Linked DNA regions of Homo sapiens: region 1 is linked to region 2. The links are contacts of gene promoters, found by promoter capture Hi-C in human tissues and cell types (Jung and others, 2019). All regions are on one chromosome and are shown on one strand. The core of a region is centred on a gene start or on the middle of the fragment in contact, and the rest is flanking DNA. Distances in the headings are between cores, read along the strand shown.

Region 1 (4,528 bases), core at 241-2,740, 180 kb before region 2:
TTCAGTCAAATTGCTTGAACATCACCTATGATGCTATTTTTATGTGAAATAAAGTAAAAATAAATTTCTTGGTTTTGCTACCTTAGAAACTTATACATAGAAACACCATACTGACTAAAATGCATTATTAAACTCTAGATCATATCAATCAAACATAAGTATATTTTCCTCTCATTATCATTTTAAAGGATTTTTGTGGCCTAAGAAAAAATTATTTTAAACATGATCATTTGAATTTTAACATATGTAAATAAAATCATAAGATACATAATAGTGTCTTATACATAAGTGTCTTATCCTTCAAAAATTATGTGAGCAAATTTGCTATTCCTGGATATCATATGTCTCTCAGCTTTTGCTTTTTTCCCCATTTTCTTTTTGTTTACAATACAGGTCTGTAGTATTTCATTCAGAACAATGAGCTTTAAAATAAAAAAAGGATTCATTTTCTTTTAAATATTGTATGGTTACCTCCTTATTATGATAAATTATAAAGTTCCTTTAGATGGTGTCCTCATATTATTAAGATAAATTAGTCCAATTTATCAAAGAAAAGTGCTCAAGTGGATCCATCTGTCCATCTGTGAAGCATGAATGCTGTGAGAATACGACTTTAAAAATAGATTCGAAGTATAAGCGGTGTACAAAGTTATTTAAATATATTAAATTATTATAGGTAAATTATGGTAAATAGGCAAAAGGTAATTCAGCAGAAATATACAATAAAAATAAGCTTGTTTTATCAAGCTCAATATTTAAAAACATGTCACCTTTCTTTTTCCCATATTCATTTTATGAAAATGTACGTTTGCCCACAGAGAAGCCCAGACACTGAAAATGGTCTCATCAACACAACCAACATTTTCCTTTGACTAACCTCCTTCGATCTGTTTTAACACTGTAGAGTGCAGAAACGTAGCTTTCTATCAAAGACATAGTGTGCTGCCCTCCACTGTGTGGGAGACTTGAAATTGTTCAGCCCCACGGTCACTTGGTTACTACATTACACTGCAAGAATATAGTAGGTAAACACAGTGTGGTGTGGGGGGACAAAGTATCCTTTCTGAGCAGGGAGGTTTAGATAATGGTCAAACAATAATGGATTTCATGGTGTCGGATTCATTTGATTTCCACTGGCCTCACCCAGAATCATCTTTAGATTACTTTTGAACATCGTGTATTCATTGCTCTCCTATTTGTCAAAGTACATTTTCTAGGCCAAATTTTGCTTTTCAGAGCATTTCTAAATGACTTCCCATAGATGTCTTCAGGTTTCTGAGACAAATTTGCTTGACAGGGAAAATATTCAAACTATTATTTATAACCTCATTTCTAAAAGAACGGATACCAATTTTCTCATACATGAATACATTTTTTTAAAAAGAACTATTTAAATCTTTCCTGAAGGAGAATTCATAAAATACTTACGTGACCTGTGCTGATAATATCAGATTAATATTTTTAACAACTTCATATGCTTAAATATTTTAAGATCATGTCTTTTCCTACAATTTTACATTTGGTAAACAGCAAGCAGCATTTTGTACCAAATAACACACTCAGTTCTTAGCACTTTTTTTAAAAAAAAAACAGTATTATGTTTACCTAATAAAACACAGACAAGGAAGGTACACTTGTACAGTAGACAAATAATTTGTACAAAAAGTGTGCCATTCAAATAGCTGAAGATTATAAATGTTCATATGGGAGTAAATTCTTATTCCTTGATTAAATCATCTTAAATGACATCTTAGCTAATTTATAATTGGAGTTTTCAATTAAAATTTCTTGATTAATGAGGTTATATATGTTTTCCATTCCTGGAAATTTTGGTGTATATATTTACCCTGTTTAAATTATGAATCAATGATTTAAGTAACATGAAAAATGATAGAATAACGAATACTTAACTATCTAACATCACAAAGGCTAAATGTTGTCATTTTCACCAATTCATTCAGAGTGAATTAAAGAAAAGAGGTATAGAAATTCTCATGCTTTAATAATTTCTTAGCAATAACTCACCAGCCTTAAATATTGGATTCAAAATCTAACCTTCATTATGAAACCTTGTATGTCAAAAGATATATACAATATATGAAAAAAGATGAATACATTCACTGAATATATATTAAGTTTAGAAAAGTATATTATCCTAATTTACTGCATGAGTAACTGGTATAAATTATTCTATTTCAGCTACATCTCTGCACAATTCATTTAAAACTGATTATGAGAACTCTTCTTCTAGAAATGCAGAGGATGAGGGAAAATAAACCAATGCAACATCATATTTTGCCACATAATTTCACAACAGATATTGTTCTTAAAAATCATGAAATCTTCAACAGCAAGCCCCCTTTAAAATGTCTTGACTCAGAATACTGTGCAATATCTTATTAAATACTATTGTATATATCTAAACTTGTTCTAAATGTGATATATAAAAGTCAGAAATATTTACATATTTTAAAAACTTGTATATATATACATATATATATCCATATATATCTCCATCAATCTATATCGCTTTGATAGAAAATTTGATGATCTGTATTGAGAAGGCAGTTTTCTATTCTGCCTGAAGGTTCAGATAGGTTTCTATCAGAAATAAAGTGGAAGGTTTAGAAGAAAATCAACCAATAAAATCTATTTCAAATTGCTGAACATGAATTTGCAGGTTTTGTTTTGGGCTAATGTATCTGTTTTTTCCTAGTTTCCAACCTCACCAAGAAGAGCAGAGGGCTGGCAAACACTGGCTTAATTATCCCCATCAGTCTCAGAGACAAGGCGCTTAAGAGTTCTAGCTGCTGTAAACACTCCCCTGATAGCAGATAAGGAATCTGCTGAAAGGCAGTTTTGTCTGGGAAACCTCAGGGGCACACCAGTTAATCATTAGTGCAATATTGTATATGCATTACTACATCAAAGGAAACAGAACCCAATATTCTATTGTGAAGATTGTCTGTGTTTTCTTAAAGGTAAGAAAACAAATGCTAAACCAGAAAATAAAAGATAATAATTACATTCGCACATTTACCACAGAAACAAAGAATGTTCTACTTTACATTTTTTTTTTCAAGAAAGAATAAGTCATTATTGCTTTTTATTTTTTAAATGTGCCCACTGGGAAAAAAGCTTTCCACTGAAGTCAAACGTGTAACTTTTGTCTAAAGAGAAATTTGCATCTTTGTATCTAAAAACATTGATCAGAATCAGAGAATATCACATAACCTTATTTTATCACAACACTAGAAGTAAAACAATGTTATTCTTCTATATCAGCACTGTGTTTGTAAAGGGATCTATTTGTGGAAAACTGACACCTCACTGTCCCTAACAAAGAACCTTTCTATCACTTCAAAATGAAGGCATCCACAATGACCTACTATTCTTTACATCTAATAGACTTCTCATAGTCCCATTATCAGAGAATCTTAGAGGTTTCCAAAGCCTTCCTAGCATGAGTCCAGAGTTAACTTCCACTCTCTCTCAGCCCTTCTGTCACTGTGTGCAAGCCAAAGAAAAGTTTTCAGCATCAAATACTCCTTGCCCTTTCCCACATCCTTGCCTTAATTAGCACTATTTCTTCTGATTGGATGTCTATTTGCTAGCCCCATCTCTACAGGTTTACCTTTCCTGGAAGCTCCAAGTCTCATATCTGAATTCAAAACAATCTCTGTTGCTTCCCTTATGTAACTGGAAGTAATTTCTTTTTTCCTCGGGACTCTTGTAGCAACTTTTTTATTAGAATAATGCCTAATCTAATGTTTGGCATATCATGGGCTCTCAGTAAATGCTGCTAAATGACCAAACTTAGTAGCAACTGCTGATTTTTATTAATGATTATGTATGGATATTTACCAAGATTTTAAGGAAAATAAAATGACCCTTTCTACCACAGAAAGCATGGTGACTTTCAGTGACCATACTGAAAAATCTTTAAAATCTACATAAGATTACTAACTCATGCTACTCTTTCAGTGTGTCTAAAATCATCTAAATTCTTCACTTTTTTTCCTTGATGAAAAATTCAGTGATTTAGACTGAGACTTACTTAACTATTTGTGAGTTAATCAGGATGAAACAGAGATGTCTCAATCAGGTATTAATAAGCCCAGATTTTGCTTCTGTCAGATATGATACAGTCCCATCTTCTTAACAGATTTTTCTCAGAGGAAATTTTTAGTTTAAATTTTTAGTTTACAGCCAACTCAACATGGATTCTAAACAAGTGAGTTCAACATCCAAACAAAAGTGACCAAAAGTTTTTTTTTATTCTATGTTTTACAAATGTGTAGTCTCAGTATTATCCCAAGTCTATCCCCAAGGTCCATAAAGAATTTGAACCCATACTTTAATTAAAGTTTCAGGATAAGGGAAATTTTGTGTAATAACATTTCCATTTGGTTCATACAATGTAATTGATAAAGCCTTCCTTAATTATTCTGATCTGAGGCTTTCAGGAAGACTCTACATTATTTGAATCAAACCATATGTGCCTCCATGCTTTCTTTGTCTAGACACC
Region 2 (4,310 bases), core at 1,057-3,556:
GTACAGAGTCACACACGGAACAACAATGGCACGCTAATCCTCGCGCTCTAAATGGGCTCACTTGTGGGTCTGACAATTCGCCCAGGGAAACGAGAAGAGACGAAGCGAGGGCGCGAGCTAGTGTCGCCTGAGACGAGGAAGAGGACAGCTGCAGAACTAATTTGGATTACATTCCTTGCAGAAATTCTGAAAAGGGCTTTTCGGCATAGCTCAACTCGGAGCCGCACAGTTAATACCAAATTGCTGCGGACTCGGAGCGGGGTCCCCCAGTGGCAGAGGCTGAACCAGACAGCCCCCAGTAGGTCGCCTCGTAGAAATTCCTCTCGGCTAAGCCTGCATGTCGGTCGCCAATGCCTTTGAATGGGTCAATGTGCATAATCAACCCATTGAGGGAAAATATGAAGGGACTCGAAGTGGGGAGGGAGATAAAAAGAGATGTATCTAAGAGGCCGCTTGGAATGTCAAGTCCGTGTTGGTGTGATTCCGGAGGTGGCTGGAGCGCGGGACCTGGTATGCGTGAAGAATTTCGGAGTAATTGGGAGGGTGCAAACGGCCAGCACAAACGCCTCACATGTGCCATTCGAAGGTCATTTTGAAAGACTCGATAATTGTAACTTGTTATTTACTAGGCAAAGGAGGCGGCGGCGGCGGCGGCGGCGGAGCGGGAAAACTACAGCTAGCCGTTTTCTTGGTGAGGTCAGAAGGACACCCTCCGGGGGCCTAAAGCGCTCCCTATCGCCACTCCCGGGGGCTTTATCACCTCAAGCTACTTCCCACGCTCCAGTCACCATCCCTGGATGGTTTCGGAAATCTCTCTGGCTCTCCAAAAGGCACCCCTTGGCCACGTCAAGACACCGGTCCTCCTCAGACCTCTCCCGTCCCACTTTCATCCCCAGGAAACTCTAGTGTCAGAAACTTTGAGCTCCATTGCACTGCAGGTGCTGTCATTAGTCCTGCAAGCCGTGGCGGGCCAGCCCCGCCGCGCTGCCTCTCGGGGTCAATTAGCCCTTTGCCTGCCCAGGTACCTGGGGCTCGAGCTCTCCAGCAAGCAGTGGCCGCGCACCCATCGCCGCTGCCGCTTTCGCCTCGGGTGGATCCAGTGACCCGCAGGCTCGGCAGCCTGGCCGGGCAGTAAACAGACAAGTTTGAAGGACTCCGGCCAATAGCAAGTTGAACTACAGGAAGAACTCTTCCCGGAGCCAAACACGGCAACCGACGGGAAGGCCGGGCTTCTGGCTCAAGTGTGCCAAGCCTTTTTTTTTTTTTTTAAGAGGTCAGGCAGGCGAGTAAGCGCCCCTCAAGTCAATGGGGAGAGGGCTCCGGGAAGCCGGCGGAAGAGGCCCAGAACTCCGGGCCCCGGACCGAGGCGCGCCCGCCTGCTGCACTCCGGCTGCCCGGGCTGGGCGCGAGTTGCGTCTGACGCCACAAGGCTCGGGCGACTGGGGGCGCAGCGGTCGCCAGCAGCACACACAGGTGCAAAGCCCGATTTTCTGAGCGCCGCTCTCCACCGCCCTTCGGGCTCGGCTCGGGAGAGGCCCAGCCAGCACCGCCCCAGGACCGCGGCCCCGGCGGTGCGGGTTCTGCCCTCGGGGACCCGACAGGGACAGAAGAGTCTCCTCTGACTGGGGATTTGGGTCTCCCATGTCCCGAACAACAGGCGCCACCAGAAGGGATCCCGCTTAGGCTCCCAAACAAAACGCTCGGGAAAGAAAAGCAGGGGGTTAAGGAGAGAAAAGAGGGACTCAGAGTGATTTTTCACGATAAATAAAGCAAACGCACACATACAGGGTAAGTTTCAAATGGAAAGAGGGGTGACCGAAAGCCCAGGGAAGAGGCCCCGGTCAAGCGGTCCCTCCACGCCTCCCGGGATGGGTGAAGAGGGCAGGGGAGCCACTCGAGGCAGCCCCGCCGGCGGCTGCAGGTTCGGCGACCGGAGTGCCAGAAGGAACCCACCTGACTGAGAATCGCTGGGCTGGACGGTCCCCGCCGCCACGAGAAGGCTCACCCAGACCCAAAGTCCTGTCGCCGGCTTCATTTTTTGGAAGTCTCAGATCCCGTGCTGACAATTACATGTCCAAATGGCATATCCCCCTTTCGGGCACGCGGAGGAGATCCCCCAGCCGGGCGCGCGTGGGGGTGCGAGGGGGGCGGGCGCGGCGCGCGCGGTGTGGCGACTCCCAGGGCGGGCGACCGAGTCCGCGCCCGCGGGTCCAGGGCCGGGGCCCGAGGAGGGGGCGAGTGTGAGCGCGTGTGTGCGCGTGTGGGAGTGTGCTCGGTGTGTGCGCTTGGCGCTCTGGGCCGGACTGTGCAGCTATTTCCCCGCGTGAGCCTTCGCTTGCTCGCTCCCTCCTCACTTTCTCTCTCTCTCACTGGTTGGTCAACAATAAAAAAGGAAGGGGGGCGAAAGGTTTCCAAAAAAAGTTGATTGCAAAGAGGCGGTAGGTTTCCGGCCTCTCCCCGCAGCCGGGCTATGTTCTGCTCCTTCTTCAGTTTCCTTGCACCTCCAGTCCAAATCGGGAGGGGAGCGGGGCGGGGGGAGCTTCTCGCTTCTCCCCGGATCCCGTCCTTCTTTTTCCTCTCAGCTTTCCTCACACTTGTCCGGCGGCTGCGGTAATTAAAGCTCCGAGCGTCATTTCCAGCGCTCCGCGGTCTCCAGCTGCAGCCCACAGAGAAATTAATAAGACTCCAGAAAAAAAAAAAAAAAAGGTGCGGGGGGCGGTGGGAATAAAACAACCCTCCACGCAACCAGGCCGGCTCTGCTCAGCCGCGCAAACCCCGCCCATGCTCTGACCCAACTAGCCACGCCCTTCCCCCCCCCTTCCAAAGGGAAATCTTATTGGCTCAGCCACTCCCCAAAATCCTGGGCCTCCGGAGTTGGGAAAACACCTGTCAGGGAAAGGGAGCCTCTTGGTGGGGGCAGGGGAAGCTGGATTTAAAGGGCTCACCGAAGCCATGCACTGAAGCACTCGTCTTCCCTCCCTGGCAGAGGCCTGGGACAGCTGGCCTGCTGAGTGGACGGACCATTGGAGGGCCGCTTACGGAAATTTTTTTTTTTTTTAAACAAGAAAGTCAGCATTTTCTCCGTTGCCCCACGGTGCTCATCTACAGACAAGACTTTCCCTAGAAATAAAAGTCAATGTTGCTTTCAGCAAAAAGCCTCCGCCCGCAGTACTCTGCCACTCATGGTCCACAATTAGAAAGTACTTTAAAAGTGTGTACAGCAAGTAACTGGTAGCCCCTGAGGATTAGGTAGTGGTAGGGGTATAATCACCGCCCCGCCTCCCGCCCCCAGTTATGCCATCTCTCCGATTACTCCCACATTTCTAAACTGACCAACATTGAGCCAAACTAAACTTTCACATTTATAAAGGCATATCCTTTGATTTTTAGATTTTATGTTTTTTTTTCACCTTTGGAGTTCATTCTTATTAAGCAGATTCTAGTCCAAAGCCACTGATTTGATCTTAAAGGGCTAGAAATTGTCCCCAGCCTGAAAGAATTTAAGGAGGCCACATCAGAACATAATTAACCTTAAATGATTCTGTTTATTCTACAGTAGACCCAGCTTTAGGCCCCTTCCTTGTCCTCACTCTGCACATTCATGGTCCCTAATCTGGAGGTCATTGCTAGTTACGAAAGTCTCTGACCTTTTCTGAATCTAAAATATTCTGGGACTGGGTCATTTCAATGTACATATCCCTTGCCTTTTACAGCTCTGAAACCGCACCCTGGCAAGGGCCAGAATCTGCTGGGGGTAGTTATTGGTTTGCTATTTGTACAGGCATTCTATGTATGAATCACTTTCCTTTTTTGGTTTTTCTAGAAGCAGCAAATATATAAATAAAAAGTATCAGGGGAGCTTAAAAATCAAACCACCCTGCCTTTCATTTGAGACCTTGATCTCCATTTCCCACTCTCTTATCTATAGCCCCATCCCTTAAGAATTTCCATGGAGCTGAGAACAGATAGGAGGTACAGATGCCTGAAGCCTGAAGCTTTCCCTTTCTTAGACCCACAGCAAATAACAGGCTCCATGAAGACGCCCAACAAGCTGAGCGTGCGGTTTTACCAGAAGCAGCCTAGGGCAGAGAGGAACTAAGCCTAGAGCAGATGACGGAGACTTGACCAGAATGGTACTGATTGCAGCAAAACTGTGCACACTGCTCTTTGGGATTATCTTTGTTTTCTTTTCTTTTCTTTTTTTTAATTACTCTTTCTCTCTGTTTTCTCTTCTTTCATTCAATCTCTTCTCATTCCCCTTGTCTTAAATCCTTTTGAAATTCTCAGGCACCTCTCTTCCATAAAAGCTA

What was found. The method cuts DNA at HindIII sites, captures the fragments that hold promoters and counts their contacts. A contact is called where the count stands out against the background at its distance.
Region 1: a fragment that was not itself captured here is called in contact with the fragment with the promoter of ERBB4 in region 2 in 1 of the 25 tissues and cell types used here (hippocampus).

The regions. Positions count from the first base shown.
Region 1 is chr2:212,356,787-212,361,314 of GRCh38, forward strand. The region is part of intron 1 of ERBB4 (erb-b2 receptor tyrosine kinase 4); the gene reads right to left. Among named protein-coding and RNA genes, the nearest start is that of MIR548F2, 67 kb to the right of the region's middle. The HindIII fragment of the contact is 4,996 bases long and covers 1-3,988 here.
Region 2 is chr2:212,536,496-212,540,805 of GRCh38, forward strand. It overlaps ERBB4 (erb-b2 receptor tyrosine kinase 4), which reads right to left and starts at 2,307. Exons shown (of 28, transcript NM_005235.3): 1 at 1,954-2,307. The coding sequence starts at 2,035. RefSeq lists an enhancer at 838-1,338. The HindIII fragment of the contact is 8,258 bases long and covers 1-4,310 here.